Linked DNA regions of Homo sapiens: region 2 is linked to region 1. Evidence: promoter capture Hi-C in human tissues and cell types (Jung and others, 2019). All regions are on one chromosome and are shown on one strand. Each heading gives the region's core, a stretch centred on a gene start or on the middle of the fragment in contact. The rest is flanking DNA. Distances are from core to core; before and after follow the strand shown. Region 1 holds the start of VAC14 (VAC14 component of PIKFYVE complex). Region 2 overlaps IST1 (IST1 factor associated with ESCRT-III).

What was found. Contacts are between HindIII fragments. The study calls those that stand out against the background at their distance.
Region 2: a contact is called between a fragment that was not itself captured here and the fragment with the promoter of VAC14 in region 1, in 1 of the 25 tissues and cell types used here (aorta).

What each region holds. Positions count from the first base shown.
Region 1 is chr16:70,799,781-70,802,480 of GRCh38, reverse strand. VAC14 (VAC14 component of PIKFYVE complex) reads left to right here and starts at 1,323. Exons shown (of 19, transcript NM_018052.5): 1 at 1,323-1,684. The coding sequence starts at 1,581. It overlaps HYDIN (HYDIN axonemal central pair apparatus protein), which reads left to right. Exons shown (of 86, transcript NM_001270974.2): 86 at 1-397. RefSeq lists enhancers at 1,288-1,347, 1,015-1,637 and a silencer at 1,428-1,617. The HindIII fragment of the contact is 10,557 bases long and covers 1-2,700 here.
Region 2 is chr16:71,929,367-71,932,066 of GRCh38, reverse strand. It overlaps IST1 (IST1 factor associated with ESCRT-III), which reads right to left. Exons shown (of 10, transcript NM_001270975.2): 10 at 868-2,700. PKD1L3 (polycystin 1 like 3, transient receptor potential channel interacting) reads left to right here. Exons shown (of 30, transcript NM_181536.2): 29 at 1,884-2,015; 30 at 2,389-2,529. The coding sequence ends at 2,529. Among named protein-coding and RNA genes, the nearest start is that of IST1, 35 kb to the right of the region's middle. The HindIII fragment of the contact is 3,323 bases long and covers 1-2,700 here.

The DNA of each region.
Region 1 (2,700 bases), core at 74-2,573:
AGTCTCTCTTCCAGTTCAAATTTCTTCTAATCTCTTTTAAGTACTCACTTGATTCGGTCAGGCCGACTCAAGTTAATCTCTCTTTTTATTAATTCAATGTCTGCTGATTAGGGACCTTAATTACATCTGCAAAATCTCTTCTGCGATATTACATAATATAATCATGTGAGTGATGCATAGCCCATCATATTTACAAGTCTTGTTCACGCTGAAAGAGGGCATAATACAGGGCATGAACACGAAGGGGTGGGAATATTGGAGGTCATCCTAGAATTCTGCCTACTTTTGCCCTTTACTCATTGCGTCCCTGTTTCTGTTGAGGAAAATACTCCATTTTCAAGACTGTTATAAGGCCTATATATGCACTTTTCATTCATTAAAGAAAAGTATCACCATGCATTCTGAAACTGTTATTCTTTGAGCTCCACTGTAATCTAGCCCTTGTCCTAAGTCCCTGTTCACTCTGAAAGCTTATGATAGGAAAGGCTGATGCACCTCCCTGTTAACTGCATGTTTACCACACTCCGGCCATAAATTGCTTTTAAATATTTTGCCACATAGTTGGGATTTCTGTCTCACCATGTAATGTGATTCCCGAAGCAGCTGAAGGGGCTGCTTTCCAGGGGACCTATCTAGAGACCCGCACTCAGCAGATCTGGGGCCTTTCTCTCTGTCTGTAACCAGCCCTCCTAGGCATCAGAGCATGTTAAACACACCCCCAAATGGTGGAGTGACAGACACTGGTGGTACCTGAGATCTTAGGTGGTAGACAGGTAGTGCCATTTTTAATTGAGAATTTATTTTGATGTGTCTTAGAAAAAATATACCTATTCAAACTCATGGTTTTAGGGCATAAGCAAAGCTAAAAGAGATTTAAGGTATTTTTTAAAGTGAGTTGATTTGAGGAAAACATTAAATAGATAATACAAGTGGCTAGAATATGGTGAAAGTGATGACAGTGTTACTGCAGTTAGGGAAACGTCTGCATCTAGGAAATTGGTAAGTGACCAACTACTGAATGAACTAGTGAATTCGGTGACTATTGAATAAATTATGTTAAGTGAATCAGACTCCAAGAACCCATTCGGTCTTACGAACGTCTACAGAAGCCCACCACGTGCCATCAGTTGGGCGTGAGCTACACACCCATTAAAGCACGTCTCAAACCACACTCCAGCTACCTGGCGCGCAGCGCGATAGTGTGTGCAGTGTGGGTGGAGCCTTCCGAGGGCGTGGCCAATCCACCTGCGGCCTGCGGTGGGGGCGTGGCTGGAGAGGGGCGGGCCCTCGCGACGGAAGGCGGAAGTGCTGTAGAGTCATGTGACTCGAGTAACATGGCCGCTGTCTCGTGAGTCCCGCTAGTGCCGGGCGGGAGTTGTTAAGCGGCCAGGGTCAGGTGTGCTGGAGCGGGGTCCGGGCCCGGGTTCCAGGGCGAGGCGGCGGAGCGTGGCAGGCAAGCCTAGAGCGGCGTGGTCCATGCGCCGGCGCCGGGGGCAGAGCGGAGCCGCAGACTCCCCTGGCCCCGGCGCGGCCCCGGCAGCCGCGGGCTAAGGAGTCGCGAGGTTCCCCCAGCTGCCACCATGAACCCCGAGAAGGATTTCGCGCCGCTCACGCCTAACATCGTGCGCGCCCTCAATGACAAGCTGTACGAAAAGCGGAAGGTGGCAGCGCTGGAGATCGAGAAGTAAGAGCCGCCAGGACCCCTCCCTGGCTATGCAGCCCCTGACTGCTCTGCTCCCCAGGGGGACTTCTCACGCCTTCCCAGCCAGGGTTACTTTCCCAGGTTTTAGGCCCTTACCTTAGCGCAGTGTTTAAGAGCAGATTGGGAGCCATATCTGGGAGTCCCTGCTTTACTCCTGACTGGCTGTGTGATTTGGTCCCAGCTTTTTAACCTCCCGGTGCCACAAAGGGCTGCAGTGAGAATGAAGTGACATCATGTATGGGTAGTGCTTTGCACAGTGCATGGCACATGGTGAGTCTTCGGTGCGGTGCCACCCAAACCAGCAAATCAGAGAGTTGTCTCTGTGGTGAGAGAGAAGTCAGAAGCCGGAGAATTTGCAGGTGATGCTGACCAGCCTGGTTTCTTACCCAGCTTCTGAGAAGTGAAGGAGATTGTTAGTGACCAAGTAGAGAAATCAGGTCGGAAAACTCGTGATCTCAAGGCTCAGAGAGTTTTTTGTTTTATCTGTGTTATAACACCCTTCCCTGCAAGTGGAAGTAGAAATAATTTGACCTTTCTTGCTTCTGCAGTCTTGTTACATGTATGTGTAACAATGATCTGATATTTTACTTTATTTCCCAATGTACAAAACAGCGAAAGTTTAACTGGGGATGTTTTATTTATTTTTTTTTCTGCAGTATTATTTTACTTTTGTGGGTTTTTTCCCAGTCACATTTTAGTGTTAAAGTCAAGTGAGTGAGTGATTTCAGAAAATTGGAAAGAAGCAGGCTGTGAAACTGGAAGAATACCAGTCTGCGAGTCAGAAAAGGTGAATTGTATTTCTGTTCTGTCCAGTAGAGTAGCCGTTGGCCGTGCGTAGCTATTATAAATTTAAATTATTAAAGATTAAACTTTAGTTTCTCAGTCACACTACCCGTATTTCAAGTGTTCAATAGCCACATGTAGCTATTGGCTGCTATATAGGGCAGCACAGATTATAGACTGTTTCCATCATTGCAGAATGCTCTATTGGACTGCTC
Region 2 (2,700 bases), core at 192-2,691, 1.1 Mb before region 1:
CACATTTTAAAATACAGTAGAAGAGTCAGGCATGGTAGCATGTACCTGTAGTTCCTGTTACTTAGGAGGCCAAAGTGAAAAGATTGCTTGAGCTCAGGAGTGAGGATGCAATGAGCTATGATCATCCCACTGCCCTCTGAGCGAGACTGTCTCCCACAAAAAACCACAAACCGGTGTAACAACTATTTTACGTAGCAGTTCCACTATAAAGTACTAGAGGTAATCTAAAGTTTATTTCAAGTATAAGAGAGATGTATATAGGGTTTATGCAAATACTGTGCCATTTTTAAAAAGGGACTTTGAGCCGGGCACAGTAGCTCACGCCTGTAATCCCAGCACTCTAGAAGGCCAAGGTGGGGCTGATCACTTGAGGTCAGGAGTTCAAGACCAGCCTGGCCAACATGGTAAAATCCCGTCTCTACTAAAATACAAAAATTAGCCAGGCATGGTGGTGGGAACCTGTAATCCCAGCCACTCAGGAGACTGACTGAGGAGAATCGCTTGAACCTGGGAGGTGGAGGTTGCAGTGAGCCAAGATCACGCCACTGCACTCCAGCCGGGGTGAGAGCAAGACCATTTCAAAAAAAAAAAAAAAAAAAAAAAGTGGGGGAGAAGACACTTTCTTAACCTTTAGGGAAGCTTGCAATTAAAAAATAAAAATAAGGGACTTAAGCATCCTCAGATTTTGGTACCTGTGGGGGCCCTGGCGCCAATCTCTCTCAGATACTAAGGGACAACTGTAACTGCTGTTTTGGCTGACTAGGCTGTGTTCTGTTGTGGTTCTAGCTCCAATAACTAGGGGATGAGCCTTTGCCACTGCAGCACTTCGTATCCTAAAGCTGTGAAGGAAGTAATCAGAGTAACAAATTTTTGCTGACACCTCCTTTTGGGGATAAAAAAGGAACTTTTCTGCTTTGGATGTAATTGTACATAAAAATACAGTAAACATAAAGTAAAAAACATTAAAAAACAAATAGAGCAAACAAAAAATAAACAGTAAAATTGTACATAAAAATAAACTTATTGGAAATAAGTCTTGTATCACAAACTCAGAGATTGCCCACATTATCTGGTTGACCTGAAATTGTTATAATAATCATTTTTAAGTAGGTAAAACAGTTTGGTGCTTGAAAATATTTTGCCATATAGATTTCCATCAGGGTGGCATTGACTGTAATCAACCCCTCTGTTGGGATATTTTTAAACAGTGCCCTAGTGGCAACAATGAATGGGCCAATACCAAGGGAAAATAAATACCATTTGTTGAAAAAGAACATCTAAATTTTAAACAACAGTTTTTGTTATGGGAACCATTCCAATAAGCCCAGAACTTGATATTTATGTATGCAGAAAAGTAAAGAATGGCAGAACTCAATGCTTGTACCTTTAAAAATGACAATGGAAAAAAAAAAATACTAAAAAGCCAGTTTTCTGTGGCCAACCTGTTAACTTTTATTGGAATGCTCCTGTGTTTAGGGTTGTAGTTTCTTGATATGGCAGAGACAGTGTGCATTCTCATTTCTGGTATGCATTTAATCTTTCAGTGTTTGCTTACCCCCCTCCCACTTTTAGCTTCCATGATTAGATGTATTTTTTGCCAAAACTCATGTGACATTTGAATCATTTCCAATTCCACTGCAACTCACCTGTTTTCTTGTGAAAGCCCTGCAGTCACAATTATCTTAACCTCCTTAAAATGAGTCATTCCTGCTCTTCTGTCCATTTAAAAGTATTTTCCTTCTTATTATCTTTTGACTCTCTCCCTAAGTTTCCTTCGGATAAGCTTTTCTTCTGATAAGATCCCAAACACTAGCATATAGCTTATGTTTGTAAAGTATAAACTAAATTGTCAGTCACTGCAAGTGTTCTTATTGTTTTCCCAGGTTTTCGCTTTAGACCCAGTCCTGGGCACCTTTCTGATCCTCACCAGTGTCATCTTGATGGTACTTGTGGTAATTAATCTTTTCGTTTCGGCCATTCTCATGGCCTTTGGAAAAGAAAGAAAGTCGCTTAAGGTAGGTAACTAAAAGATAAACTAGCATGCTGTTATATCACTGGGAAAGCTCCACTGTAACTGCCCCTAAGATGACGGGCTGACATAATTTATAATGCACAGTATCATATTCCCTTTATTAGTTTCAAAAGCTCTGCCAGCTATCTTCCTAGGAAACCCAATTTATAAGACTACATAATATTCTATAGCCATTGTCCTATAAATAGTTGGCTCGCAACCATTAGTGGAAACACTCCAATGCCTGACTGCAAATTATTAAAGAAATAGTATCTTTACATTTACTAATTTTTTAAAAATCTTTGGTACTTTTTTTACTCCACTATTAGCAGTAATTTCAATTTTCTCACTTTTCTCTTTTTGTCTTCAATACTCAGAAAGAAGCTGCACTAATAGATACACTGCTACAGAAGCTCTCAAATTTGTTAGGAATCAGTTGGCCCCAAAAAACCTCATCTGAGCAAGCAGCCACGACAGCAGTGGGCAGTGACACTGAAGTTTTAGATGAACTACCTTAATCCTGTTATCTCCTACTTGGCTTAGTATTTATTAGCGTATTACTACTTATCTTTGCATGGCATAGCTTTAAAATTATAATATACTTTGTTTTTAATTCTGTAAGTTAGGAATCAAAATCCCCTTGGTCCCAAGTTCTTATGGATCTTGGCACTGTCAAGATAGGATTAACA